5 separate regions of the Homo sapiens genome follow, and all the other regions are linked to region 3. Evidence: promoter capture Hi-C in 16 types of primary human blood cells and fetal thymus (Javierre and others, 2016). All regions are on one chromosome and are shown on one strand. Each heading gives the region's core, a stretch centred on a gene start or on the middle of the fragment in contact. The rest is flanking DNA. Distances are from core to core; before and after follow the strand shown. Region 1 overlaps TSHZ2 (teashirt zinc finger homeobox 2). Region 2 overlaps ZNF217 (zinc finger protein 217). Region 3 holds the start of CYP24A1 (cytochrome P450 family 24 subfamily A member 1). Region 4 overlaps TSHZ2 (teashirt zinc finger homeobox 2). Region 5 overlaps TSHZ2 (teashirt zinc finger homeobox 2).

Region 1 (2,700 bases), core at 105-2,604, 800 kb before region 3:
TGAAATTTTTTTTAATCTGATCTGTGAAATCCAGAAGTCTGGGAATGTCAGGAGACGTCTGGTGGCATTCTGTAGGTGGGAGTGTCACGGTGTCGTAGGAAGTTCAGGAATCTGAAGTCTGTGTCCCAGCCATCCTCTGTTCCAGACATGCTGGGTGACAGTAGGCAAGGAATTTCTATTTCTGGGTTTCACTTTTCTAGTCTCTAAAATTCAGAGAGCAGCTTTAAAGAATCCTGAGCCGACGAGGGCATGAAGGACATGGAAAGCCTGAGAGGAAAGCCAAGGAGTCAGGCAGGTGGACTTCCCGGAGGAGGGGACCTGGGGAGCTGCTCTGGGCAGGCTCTTTGTGAAGGGAGAGCAGCCCTGCTCAGTTTCTCCGTGGAAAGTCTCAGGGTTACCATCTCCGCCTCAAATTTTTCAAAAAGAAACAGAAATCATGGTTTTTATGTTAAATCTCTCCGTTCATAAATATTAGCAACCGCTTTAATTAAAAACTAAACAAGGCCAGGCATTGTGGCTCACACCTGTGATCCCAGCACTTTGGAAGACCGAGGCAGACGGATAGATTGAGCCCAGGAGTTTGAGACCAGCCTGGGCAACATAGCAAGACCCCATCTCTACAAAAAAATTTTTAAAAATTAGCCAGGCATGGTGGCATGCATCTGTGGTCCCAGATACTCAGGGGGCTGAGGTGGGAAGATCGGTTGAGGCCAGGAGTTCAAGGCTGCAGTGAGCCGTGATGATGACACTGCACTCCAGCCTGGGCGACAGGGCAAGACCTTATCTCAAAAAACAAAACAAAACCACGTGAGCCCATAAAACACATTTGTGGGTTGGGTTTGGCTGAGGGATGGCACGTTCATTTCCTGGAGCTGCTATAACAAATTACTACAAACTCAGTGGCTTAAAACAGCAGAAATTAATTCTCTCGCAGTTGTGGACGCTGGAGGTTGGAAATCAAGGTGAAGGCAAGGCCACACTCCCTCTGAAGATGCTAGGGATGAGCCCATCCTGGCCTCTTCCAGCTTCTGGTGTTCCTTGGGTTGCGGCCGCATCGCTCCAGCTTCTGCTTCCTTGTTCAAACAGCTTTCTCCATGGGTCTCCGTCCTCTCTTCTTATAGGACTGTCAGTCATTGCTTTTCGGGCCTACCTCATCTTAACTGAATTACACCTGCAAAGACTCCATTTCCAAATAAGGTCCCATTCACAGGTAGGAGGGGTCAGGACTTGAGCCTGTGTTCTTGGGAGGACAGAATTCAAGCCACCATGATGGATATGACCTCTATTATAAATTATTCAGTATAGAGACTCTGGCCTAGGAATCTGGGAACCACCGAATGATTAAAAGCTGCTCTGTAAAGTTTACAAAATCTGTCTCTCCAGGAAGTGAATGATGAATGTGAGAGAGTTCATACGGGTTTCCAAACAGGATTGTCCTGGCTGCAAGACCCAGGTCAAGTCAGACACATTCTAGTCTTCAGAACAGTGTTAGGCGGTGTATTTGTTTCCTGGGATGGCTGTATGAAGGACCACACACTGGGTGACACAGGGCAACAGAAATGTGCTCTCTCACAGTTCTGAAGGACAGAGTCTGCCATCAAAAGTCAGCAGGAGCTGGGGAGGAGGGGGTGGCTCACGCCTATAATCCCAGCACTTTGGGAGGCCGAAGTGGGCGGATCACTTGAGACCAGGAGTTTCAGACCAGCCTGGCCAACATGATGAAACCCCATCTCTACTAAAAATATAAAAGTTAGCGGGGCATGGTGGCACATGCCTGTAGTCCCAGCTACTCCAGAGGCTGAGGTACAAGAATTGCTTGAACCCAGGAGGCGGGTGTTGCAGTGAGCTGGATCATGCCACTGCACTCCAATCTGGACTACAGAGAGAGACTCCGTCTCAAAAAAAAAAAAAAGAAAAAAAAAAGAGTCAGCAGGACATGCTCCCTCAGAAGGCTCTAGAAAAGGAGTCTTCCTGCCTCTAACTTCCCCGTGACTCCCAACAATCCCTGGTGCCCCTCGGCTTGTGGCAGCATCACTCAATATCTGCCTCCTTCTCTGTGTTTCTGTGTCCTCAGTCATTGAATTAGGGCCCACCCTAATTGAGTCTGACCTCATCTTAATTACAAATGGGAAGACCCTATTTCCAAATAAGGTCACATTCTGAGGTTCCAAACGGCCATCAATTTTGAGGTGACTCTCTTCAGTCAGTACTCAGTTCAGGCCGAGTGCAGTGGCTCATGCCGTAATCCTAGCACTTTGGGAAGTCAAGGCAGGCGGACCACTTGAGGTCAGAAGTTTGCGACCAGCCTGGCCAACATGGTGAAACCCCATCTCTACTGAAAAAAGAAAAAATTAGCCAGGCGTAGTGTCACGCACCTGTAGTCCCAGCCACTCGGGAGGCTGAGATAGGAAAATCGCCTGAACCCAAGAAGCAGAGGTTGCAGTGATCGGAGATCACACCACTACACTCCAGCCTGGGTGACAGAGTGAGATCTTGTCTCAAAAAAATAAAGAAGGAAGAAAGGAAGGAAGGAAAGAAGGAAGGAAGGGAGGGAGGAAGGGAAGGAAGGACCCAGTTTATTCACCCAATACCAGTTCTCTTGTCTCCAAGGTCTCTTCCATCTGCCTGTCTCTGTGACTCTAACTTTCCTATCTTTCCTTGAGAGTCTTTGCTGGCCTTTCCATTCAGCCATTTTCTTAA
Region 2 (2,728 bases), core at 9-2,508, 610 kb before region 3:
TTAAAATTGTGTTTATAAGCCAGGCATGATGGCTCGATACTCGGGAGGCCGAGAGCTGGAGGATCAGTTGAGCCCAGGGGTTCAAGGCTGCAGTGAGCTGTGATTGCACCACTGCACTCCAGCCTGAGTGACAGAGCAGGAGCACATCTCAAAAAAAAAAAAAAGAAAGAAAACTAAAAAGTTAAATAAAACAAAATCAGAAACCAGAAACACAATAAACACTAAAACTCAAGATTGCAAAACACCAAATCTATATTTACACTTCCACATATAATAACATAACTTTAAGCTGAAATATATCATAAATAAAACAAGTAATGTCTACTGTTCGACAACTTAAGTATCAACAATTAAAATAAATCAAACTGGAATGAAATAAATACATAAACAAAAATCCAACGAATTGTACCTCTATTATATGTACTGTTGTCTCAAAGAAAAAAAAATATAAAACCAGTAGTATACCAATAGTTAATACTGATGGACACAAAAACATATTTTGAAGTACAAAGGGCTGTAGGAAAATAATTGGTATTTTTATACATTCAGAAATGTGGTTAAAAAGAGAAATCTGAAAGCCCAAAAAATTCCAGCATAATACAAATCGACTTGTTTTCAAATAGATTTGGTGATTCTTTTTTTTAAATACAGGTTTAAATTCCAGCCCTCTATTATCACATACCCCCTTTAAGATTTATGGTTCTAGTCACAGCAAGCTCTCTGTAACACTCATTGGATTAGGCAAAGATTGAGTCAATCATCTTGCAAATGTGTTAATCTTCAAAAATAGGCTATAAAAGTGCAAAACTATGAAAACAAAATCTAGATTATGTACATATGGCTCAGCTTGTGAACAGGAAAAAAGGTCAATAGTGTACACTTTCCTGATACAAAGCACTTCATTGCAATGCCAACAGACTGATCTCAAATGAGTTCTCCCTTGTAACACAGGAGCTAAGACTTCTATCAAGGAGGACATCTTACGTTGCATAATTTAAAAAAAAAAAATTTTTTCTAGGATTACCCTTGCTCTATGGAGAACAGCGAGGCCAGAAAAATGAACAGTGCAAATTTATTTTTGAAACAGTTTCTTAATAAAATATTTTGTGGTCACTAAGCCCATGTACTAATAAACTCAGCCATGGACAGCATATTAAAGAACAAAAGTTTAAAATATCTAGGAAGCCAGCTGGTGGCCATCTTCTCTAAAACCCAAATTGCATGTGCACTGAGAAAAATGTTACTGCTTCAAAACAACCAAAAATGGGAAAATAACTGAGGTCTAGAAACAGATTTTCTCTTTCTAGACTCCCAGCGGGCTCGGCCAGCAGTTCCTTATTCAAAATCAATGTGTCTATAATCAACTCTAGTATGTCCACAGTTCACCCAAATGCCAGATACATTAAGACTACCAAATACAAACCTAAAATGTTCCCCCCAAAATTTCCCTTAAAACTGTTCCCCAATACCTGCAATTCACAGATATAATTTAGCATTTTTGTTTTTATATACTAATTTAGGCAAAACCCCCCCGCCACTGAATCGTCCAACAAAAATGATTAATTTGACAGAAACAAATTTAAATAACTGCACATACAGTTTATGTTTATACAACGTGTGGCTGCTCTACAGAGAAAATGCTTGTCTGTAGACACACTCTCTTAAAAATCCTACAAGCCATCCCAACGCCCTCAGTCAAGGATCCTGGAGGTTCCAGGACAATCTGGAGAGGCGAGGAAGAAGGTGCCTTCCCCATCTGAGATGCTCAAAGTTGCGATAAAATGCTGCCAGCTTCCGAATGGCTGACCTCGATATCTGCAGCACATATCATAGAGGGTCAATACTTCCATTAACAATTTTAAGACAACAATAGATTTGGGTGGATTCAACATAATACAAAATCATTGACAGTTTAAAAAAAAAAAAACATACATTTTAAATGAAAGAGCACAATAGCAGAAACTGCTCCAAGTGATGAGCTGCATTAGAGAAAAGGAATACACACAGTATTTGAACAAGCAGGTTTACAACTTAGATATTTACAGATTTTTACCTGAGGTGCAAGCATTATATACTTTTCCCCCATCCCGCCCCACCCAACCCAAATGATTTCTTTTCAGCAGCGCTCAAGTATGCAAAAATTCCACTTCTTATTTGGTCAATTCTAAGAAAAATATTATTCAGGGACAAAATAGAGATTTCCAGTCCCCATGTATGTAAGTTCCAACTGTTCCAACTAGTTTGTATTGCTATTTGGTACAAAAGTTAACAGAACAACTTTACACAACTGTAGTGTTCCTTGCAGATTCCTCATATGTTTTATGTACAGTACAATCACAGCTTATTTCAGTAGCTTTCACCATTCGCTTCTCAAAGGATGAAGTAAAATTTAATTTCATGGGGAGTAAGCACTGACATCCACCAAGACCTAAGGAAAACAACATTTTTTAAATGATTAAGATCAAAACTGAATACAGTTTAGAAAATTCTTTCTTTAAAAAAGCGTAATACATAGAACCAAACTGACCTAGAAATGCAATGGGTTCTATTTGTTGTTGTTGTTTTTGAGACAGTCTCACTCTGTCGCCCAGGCTGGAGTGCAGCGGCACGATCTTGGCTCACTGCAACCTCTACCTCCCAGGTTCAAGCGATTCTCCTGCCTCAGCCTTCCAAGTAGCTGGGACTACAGGCATGCACCACCACGCCCGGCTAATTTTTTTGTATTTTT
Region 3 (2,700 bases), core at 111-2,610:
TGGTACAACCCTGTTTTGGCGTTTCTTTGATGGGAGGGTGTGGCCCTGCCCTGTTGCCAGAGAGAACGCAGGTGCTGGGTGCACAGCACGGCTTTTCCGTGGACCGACTCTAATCTGTACAAGAGCTCAGGGTTGCGATGGCACGGGAGAGGGGCTTTGGTATCCGCCCTACGTAAGAAGCTTCCAACCCCAGGGAACTCTAACTCCGCCTCTTCACAATTTCCAGGCGCCGTCAGGCTCATCAGGTCTGGCCGCATGCCCAGGTCCCTCGGATTGGACTCACAGGATCAGCAGCCCGTAGCCTTCTTTGCGGTAGTCGCGATAGGCCTTCCACGGTTTGATCTCCAGCCGCTGCGGGTACGCGCTCTCGGTGCGGTACAGCGCTTCCAGCAGGCATGGCGAGCCCAGGTGCACCGACTCAAAGGAACCCAACTTCATGCGGAAAATCTTGCCATACTTCTTGTGGTACTCCACCTGCAGCCGGCCGGGCACAGCGCGGTGTCAGCGCGCATCCTCCGCCGTGCCCGAAGCGCTTTCCCTCCTCCCGCCTCCTTCCTCCTAGGGGACCGGGGACCCTCCCTGCCCAGACGCCGAAGCGCACCATGCGCCCGAGGCGCGCATGTCGGGGAGGGTTTGGAGCGCCACTGGGAGGGCGGAAGAGGGAGGAGAGAGTCAGGGGCGCGAAAAGGGGTTTACCAGGGTGTCGTGCTGTTTCTTGAGACCCCCTTTCCAGAGAATCTGCAGCAGGCTGCCCAGCAGTGGCCAGCTGGTGGGGCCCGGCAGGGCGGCCGCGTTCTGAGTCTCGCCACCAGCTGTCAGCGGGCAGACTGGCACCTCTCGCGGCTGAGGGGACGTGTACGCCGTAGATGTCACCAGTCTCGGGGGCTGCCTCGGACTGCGCAGCTGCTGCAGGAAGGCGGCAAGCGAGCGGCTCTTGCTGATGGGGGAGCTCATGGCAGCGGGGGACACCGGAGCGCGGGAAGGCAGGAGGATGGGGTGGGGCGAGGTTGGTACGAGGTGCTAGTGGGAGTCGGGGCTTAACGATTCTGGGAAAAGGAAGCAAAGAGGGCCAGCTGGTGTGATGGAGCGGGGTGAGGCGGGACAGGCAGCAGAAAGGACCTCGGCGAGGATGCTCGACGCTGCACCACGCGACAGCCTCAGAGCATTGGTGCCTCCTTGCACTGGCCGCAGGGGCTGGAAGAGGGTGGCCGGTGTCTGGGGACCTCTTGAAAAGGGAAAGCTGGGAGTCCTCCTGTTGGTCCGCAAGGCTGACCTCTAGGGTCTGGCTGGAGCCACGGGGAGGTGTCAAGGAGGGTAGATGAGATGCTGCTGGCGCTGCGTTTCCTCCTGTCCCTCTCCATGTTCCTATGCCCAGGGACCATGCATTTATGGAGACAGAGCATGCCCTGGGTGGCCAATGAGCACGCAGAGGAGGGCGGAGTGGCCCCCGGCTGGCCAGACTCCGAGGGACGCGGGACCCAGGGGAGGGGGGGTGGAAGGAGGATGGAGTCAGCGAGGTGAGCGAGGGCGTCCGGGCCTGGGGTGACCGGGGCTATGTTCGCTGGGCGCGGGAGGTGGGGTGGGGGCGGCAGACTCCACCCCGGAGATAACCCCCAGGAAGTCATGCGAAGCCCGGAGTTCACCGGGTGTGCTTCGAACGCGCCTCCCCGCCCTCCCCCGGCGGGCAGGAGCCGGCAGCGGCGGCCGTGGTTGCCGCCCGGCGCTTGCACAATCGCGATGCCGGGCGGGCGAGGTCCCCGAGTGCGGGCCCAGAAAAGCTGCCGGCGTCTGCCAGGGCCCCGGGGAGCCCGGGCGCCTCCCGGGGAGCCAGATACCCCCAGCCTGGACTGAAGTGATTTTTTTTTTTTTTTTGCCTTTTTTTTTTTGGAGGAAGTTTGGCTTTCTGCGCCTCCCAGGGTGGGGAGGATTTGAGTCTTACTGAAATGCACCAGAAGAGGAGACTTTCTTAACTTGAGCAAGAAGGGGAGTTTGTAGAATTTCCTTCCTGCTGTTTCATGTTTGGTTGTTTTGCAGATTAAATGAATTAATGCACGTAAAGCGGCAACAACGAAGCCTTGTCTATAGTCAACAGTCAATAAAAGTTAGTTGCTGTTGTTACTTCTTTAGGAAGTTAGGAAATGCGCCTTGAGAGCGTGGCTTGCACCAACGATGCTTGAATTCAGGCTGGGCCACCTCCCCTATGTCCACTGCCCGCCTCTGTTCTTCTACACCGACTACCTTGTGCAAAGGAGGGGCACACAGAGCTTGAAACCACCGCCCCCAGTACTCCCCCTCTCCCCCAAGGTGCGTCCTAGGCAGGTCCAGTGACAAACATACACAATTTCTAGAGTTACCGCGGCTGGCAAGAGTAGAACTCGCTTTGCTAATTCAGGAACGGAAGTTGGAGATTTTTGTTGATTGTTTTAAAGTGGCTCGAATCCTTTCAACCTGATCCAATACAAAACTACCACCAGCCAGGGAGGAGGGGAGGGACATTCTGTTTCCTCGCCCTGCTTTTCAATTACGTGTCTCAGTCATTTTTGCCCCAAGTGTTGGCAAATCCTTCCCTGGTAAATTCTTTTGTAAGCCTCTAGTTTGTTTCTTAAAAATCTTTTGCAGTCCAACTTAAGCTTTAACACCATCATTTCTGATTTGTCTGGAGGGGCTAATGACTGTTTATGTTAATAAAAATAATAGCTA
Region 4 (2,740 bases), core at 55-2,554, 720 kb before region 3:
ATAGTCAAGACATGGGCAAGACAAGAGTGCTGTCATCAAGTGTGAAGAACAAAGGGAAGTCAGTAACCCCAGATGACTAATGAAGGGGACAGGAGCAGCTTCAGCTGCAGTTCATGCAATGGGTCTAGGCAAGTGGCTTAGGGCTGAACTGTGCACAGTGTAAGGGGCTTAGAGGACCTACTTTATGTGGCCCAGGGGCCAGACTTAGAGTTCAAGGGAGAATTTGAGCCCATCTCTTATTAGTTACAGGAATTTAACACCATCTCTTATTACCTACAAGAACTAGAGCAGGCCAAGCGTGGTGGCTCACGCCTGTAGTCCCAGCACTTTGGGAGGCCGAGGCAGGTAAATCACTTGAGGTCAGGAGTTCAAGACCAGCCTGGCCAACGTGGTGAAACCCCATCTGTACTAAAAATACAAAAATTAGCTGGGCATGGTAAAGTGTACCTGTAATCCCAGCTACTCGGGAGGCTGAGGCAGAGAATTGCTTGAACCTGGGAGGTGGAGCCTGCAGTGAGCTAAGATTGAGCCACCGCACTCTAGCCTGGGTGACACAGTGAGACTCTGTCTCAAAAAAAAAAAAAAAAAGGAACTAGAACAAATCAATCACTGTATCTCTCTGAGCCCACTGAGCCCATTGACTTCACATGCAAAATGGGGTTATATATCAACACGTACCCCTACAACAAGATAGCATAGTATAAAACAATATTATGTGTGTGAAGGAGGTACATGTTTCTTCCAAGTTCTACTCAGTTCTTCTAAGAAGCTTCTACTCAGACATGAGTTCTGCCTGTTGTTTGTGTTTTTCTCAAGGAACGTTTAGTGTTGTATTGCTGTTAGATTGCTGCCTTACATATCCTCCATTGACTAGAAGCTTCTTGAAGGGAAGAAGCATGTCTTATTCACCGTAATTTTGTCGAGCTTCTGGTAGCATGCAGGTTGAGTCGGGAGATAAAAATGCCAGGCCTTCAGGGGTTTGATGTATGAATGAGGACCATGAGATTATAAATCAGCTACAAGGCTCCATGTGATCTCTCCATAAGCATCCACTCCTTGGAAGCTGTCTGACTTTATTCGTCTGTATGGCACAAAAGAGACACTTGGTAAATATTGAATGAACTGATGAATGAATGAATGAATTCGCCTTTGGTTAGGCATAGCAATAAAGAAAATGAAATTTAACTTTGTCTTCTAGACTTTGAATGCCTCTGCCAACAACTAAATATCTTCCAGGGAGGGCAGATGGCGGCCTGTACAATGAACAATTTAATCTTTAGAAACTGGAACAACTTTGCCAGCAAACTCCATTTTTCTCTACGAACACATTGTCAATAACATGTGCTCTCAAATATGTGGTGAAATTGATGACTGGGCCCTGATTTATAGAAACAACAACAAATTAAATGTTTACCTTTCTCTTTCCTAGCTTGGGGTCCTTCAGACCAGCCATGAATTTTTTTTTCCTGTGCTCTAATAATAGAGGAGGTTTAATTACAATGCTCCATCGTGTGATTGTGTGTGGAGTGGAAGCAAAGCAAAATGTCCAGGGTATCTTAATTTAAAACCAGGAGGGGAAAAGCCACTTATGTGATAATGAAGATTAACGTAGGGAGCCGCTGGCTCTCCCTTCTCACATAAAAGCAGATATTGGGGGAATCCTTCATACAAACATTTCTGTGACCACTCATTTAGCCTCTTGTAGGAAATCTTCTTGATTTTGGACAAACTCGAAGCTTTAGATTTGCTTGAAAATAGGCCAGGGTAGGAGAGGGATGCCCAGAGAAATGGAATTCTCCAAACAGTAATCAGGCTACATGTTTGGGACTATTCCTGGGAATGACAGACTGGTTTGGAAGAAGTCACCATCCTAGGACCTCTTCTTCTAGAATGGTGGCTCTGAACTCCTACTTGGGTCAAGAGCCTTTTTGAAAATATCATGAGAGCTACAGATTCTCTCTCCAGGAAAATCAAGTCTACCTATAACTTCATATACACACATGCACCAAAATGCTAAATTCTGCTTACAATGTCATCTCTTGTCTTTGCCATAAACTTAAACAACTTGAGTGACAATTGCTACTGAAAATTCCAGGCTTCACCAACCTTTCTGTGATGCTCATCCAAGATTAAGAACTGCTAGACTTAGAGGACCCTTGGTTTCTTTAGGCCACAAAACTGCTTAACTGTCTTAGGCTGTGGACTTCTTTGGCTGTCTGATGAAACCCGTGGAGCCCTTTAAAATGTCTTTAAAGGCCAGGCGTGGTGGCTCACACCTGTAATCCCAGCACTTTGGGAGGCCAAGGCAGGCAGATCACGAGGTCAGGATTTTGAGACCAGCCTGGCCAATATGGTGACACCCCATCTTTACTAAAAATACAAAAATTAGCCGGGCATGGTGGCACGTGCCTGTAGTCCCAGCTACTCGGGAGGCTGAGACAGAAGAATCACTTGAACCCAGGAGGTGGAGGTTGCAGTGAGCTGAGATCGTACCACTGCACTCCAGCCTGGGTGACAGAGTGAAACTTGGTCTCAAAAAAAAAAAAAAAGTCTTTAAAAACTAATGTTAAATGTGTTAATGTGGCTGTCCCTTTCCCATCCTTCAGGTCTTCATTCAGATGTCACTCCCTCAGAGAGGGCTCCCTCTCCCCTTTCTCAAAGTAGCCCCATCAGAACTGAAACCCTCCCAATTGTCCCATAGAATGGATGGTTATGGTTTCTTTTGAGTAAACATAGAAAT
Region 5 (2,700 bases), core at 110-2,609, 750 kb before region 3:
ACGTTCTTTTGTTTTTTTTTTTCTCACCATCTAAAAATATAAACATTATTCTTAACACCTGGGTCATACAGAAACAGGTAGCAGGCTGAATTTGGTCCATCCCTCCCTTACATAGAACATGACAAAAAAGGGAATTCCTGCTGTCTCCAAAAAAACCCATAAATTCCCACTTTTCTATCCTTAAGATGAAAGAAATTACCCTCGATATTGGGAACTCAGTTCAGTTACCACTATAGGAATTAATCTACCAATATCTGAACTTCTGGAATGTTCTGTTTACCTAGCCCAGGATAAACAGGGGAGGACAAACTCCGAGTAACTGAGTGCTGGCTTTTTTTCTTTTCCTGCTATGACTTCATGAAAGGGTTGTTTACGGTAGGAAGTAACCAATGATTTTGATTGCTTCAGGACTTCCTGGTTAAAAAATAAAATGGAGAAGAAGAAAGAGGAAAGTCCTCAAGTTGTAAGCTTTGGAAATACAAAGCCCTCAGGTCCTGTGTAAAATTGAACATGAAAAATAGGCCTCTAATTTCTGTCCTCTCTCCCTAAGCAGTCAACCATTGGAGAAGGTGACTGGGGGAGACCCTTGGCTCAGAACTTCTTGGTGGTTATAAATTCTTTATCAACTATGGCTTATGTTTTTACAGGGAATTTTCTTCTTCCTCTTCTTCTTTTTTTAAGTTACGGTGATCACAATTTTCAGATTTTTGACTACTTATCAAACTTTTTTTCCCTCCCCCTCTTAACAGAGAAGGTCAGTCACTTTTAAGATATAAGAGAATTTGAGAACAGATTAATGACAAAGATAAATGATGATTTTTATTTTAGCGGAAGTTTCAGCGCGTTTTCTGCCCAGCCTGGGTACTGCTAATAAAGTATACTTGACATATAACTGCGTAAGTTCTTTGCTTTAAAGTTCAATGATGGATCAAAAGAGAGAATTCTCTCTTTAGAAAGAAATGTCCTGGAAGGAAAAATAAAAGGAAGGTGGAGGGGAAGCTCATACATCCCTTTTGTCTTTTTCTCTTCTCTTTGTGGCCCAGAGACAGAGCATTGAGTGACTTCTTCAGAAAAGAGATCAGTGAAATTGTCAGTTGATTACTTCTCCTTGATTAGCATTTATAAGAGCCCTGTGATACAGTATTTGCATTCCTATTTAGCCGTGATTTTTGTGGGGCACCAATGATTAAACTTGTCACAGGGCTTGATTGACGGGGTCAGATCTTCACTTTCTACTCTTTTGAAATTAAAAACAAATGTGTCAGCTCCCTTCATGGGCTGGAGCGCCGTGAAGCTCGCCTGCCTTGTCATTGCAGATAGGTCAGGAATGTTTTAATTTTAGGGATGGATTCTGCTTGTCAAGTAGAGTGTGATGGCGTGTGGTTCTGGAGATGAGATGTGAAGGGTGTAGCACAAAGAAGGGGAAGAACAAAGACAAAGACACTCACATTATTAGACAGATTTAATTAGTCTGAATGGATATTATGCTAGATGAAGCAGTGAGCTGTGAAATTAACCCTTGATTACGGATTGGCGGATCCTACTCATAAAGAGAATCAAACCTTTGTGGAGAGACGCGAGGTATGATTTCAGTTTCTCCTACCCTTCCGGGTTGCATGCCAGATCCCCACCCCCACCACCCACCCCTGTCGACTTAAACACCAGAATCTGTAGGGGGAAAAAAACTGTGGAAGTTCATCTTTAACTTGAGCAGGCAGGTATACCTAGAAAAGGAATTCCACCTGGCTTCCTCTCTTCAACTTTAGAGAAAGCAACAAGCCCAGGGTGGTTGGATGTGAAGCTAAGAGGCTCACAAAGACACAGATTTCTGAATCCAAAATAGAGAACAGAAATAGCTAAGTTTGAATAAGAGCCATGTATTTTGAGGGTCTGAAGTGAATAGCTCTATCCACTGCAGTAGAGGGTCACCTCCCGGGAATGTTTGTCCTTCATACAATGTGCCCCCCAACTTACTGCTGCCTTTCCATGGTCTTCTCCAGTGAATCCCAGCTGCATCCTGACTTCCAAGAACTTCAAGCATGTTAAGAAAGGGATGGAAGGCCTAGAGCCCTCACCCAGCATTGATGGTCAACTAAGAAAAGTCTCTCAAACATTAATACTAAGGACTCTAACATGGAGGGGGACATGGGCGAGATGGGTCTGAGATCATGTGGCCTTCCAGAAATCCTTTAACTTATCCAAATTATCTGATTTGGCACACTCTGGACTCTACTGATAAAGGCTTTGTACAAAGCTTGCACCAACTAACATCTCTATTTTTAAGTGACTCAGTCCAAATCATTCTCCAGCACTGATTCCAGGAATGAGAAGTCTCTGTGGGGGCATGATGTGGAGGAGAAGTATCTGTTAGGCTGGCCCAGGTCATGTGGAAAGTCAGCAAATTAGGAAATGCAGAAATGGAGTTAGAGAATTTGCTCCGCAGCTCTTTCACAAACTCAGTCTTCTCGTTGGTGAATGAGATGTGTAGCTCCTTCTTTAACAATTGTGCTGAAATCTTAACTGTGTACTTTAAGTGCCAAGAAAGGCACTGTGTATTATTATTATAGCTCTCTGTAGAAAACATGGCACTAATTCTAAGTCACTTTTCTGGCTCTGTCTCCATCCAGTCTTCCTTATCACAGTTTCCCACTTTGATGTATAAGTGGCTTCAGTTTGGGGAACTCCTGGTTGAGGAATTCC

Evidence for each region. The method cuts DNA at HindIII sites, captures the fragments that hold promoters and counts their contacts. A CHiCAGO score of 5 or more calls a contact.
Region 1: a fragment that was not itself captured here is called in contact with the fragment with the promoter of CYP24A1 in region 3 in 1 of 17 cell types (neutrophils); the score reaches 7.1 in neutrophils.
Region 2: a fragment that was not itself captured here is called in contact with the fragment with the promoter of CYP24A1 in region 3 in 4 of 17 cell types (monocytes, megakaryocytes, neutrophils and 1 more); the score reaches 7.1 in monocytes.
Region 4: a fragment that was not itself captured here is called in contact with the fragment with the promoter of CYP24A1 in region 3 in 1 of 17 cell types (neutrophils); the score reaches 5.1 in neutrophils.
Region 5: a contact is called between a fragment that was not itself captured here and the fragment with the promoter of CYP24A1 in region 3, in 1 of 17 cell types (total CD8 T cells). The highest score is 5.7, in total CD8 T cells.

What each region holds. Positions count from the first base shown.
Region 1 is chr20:53,369,977-53,372,676 of GRCh38, forward strand. All of the region lies in intron 2 of TSHZ2 (teashirt zinc finger homeobox 2), which reads left to right. Among named protein-coding and RNA genes, the nearest start is that of TSHZ2-AS1, 130 kb to the right of the region's middle. The HindIII fragment of the contact is 2,991 bases long and covers 1-2,700 here.
Region 2 is chr20:53,566,837-53,569,564 of GRCh38, forward strand. It overlaps ZNF217 (zinc finger protein 217), which reads right to left. Exons shown (of 6, transcript NM_006526.3): 6 at 235-2,428. The region is part of intron 3 of ZNF217-AS1 (ZNF217 antisense RNA 1); the gene reads left to right. Among named protein-coding and RNA genes, the nearest start is that of ZNF217-AS1, 15 kb to the left of the region's middle. The HindIII fragment of the contact is 4,272 bases long and covers 1-2,728 here.
Region 3 is chr20:54,172,626-54,175,325 of GRCh38, forward strand. CYP24A1 (cytochrome P450 family 24 subfamily A member 1) reads right to left here and starts at 1,361. Exons shown (of 12, transcript NM_000782.5): 1 at 697-1,361; 2 at 284-474. The coding sequence starts at 954. RefSeq lists an enhancer at 991-1,584. The HindIII fragment of the contact is 2,450 bases long and covers 179-2,628 here.
Region 4 is chr20:53,452,028-53,454,767 of GRCh38, forward strand. All of the region lies in intron 2 of TSHZ2 (teashirt zinc finger homeobox 2), which reads left to right. TSHZ2-AS1 (TSHZ2 antisense RNA 1) reads right to left here. Exons shown (of 6, transcript NR_187667.1): 4 at 910-1,081. Among named protein-coding and RNA genes, the nearest start is that of TSHZ2-AS1, 51 kb to the right of the region's middle. The HindIII fragment of the contact is 859 bases long and covers 876-1,734 here.
Region 5 is chr20:53,425,791-53,428,490 of GRCh38, forward strand. The region is part of intron 2 of TSHZ2 (teashirt zinc finger homeobox 2); the gene reads left to right. Among named protein-coding and RNA genes, the nearest start is that of TSHZ2-AS1, 77 kb to the right of the region's middle. The HindIII fragment of the contact is 1,786 bases long and covers 467-2,252 here.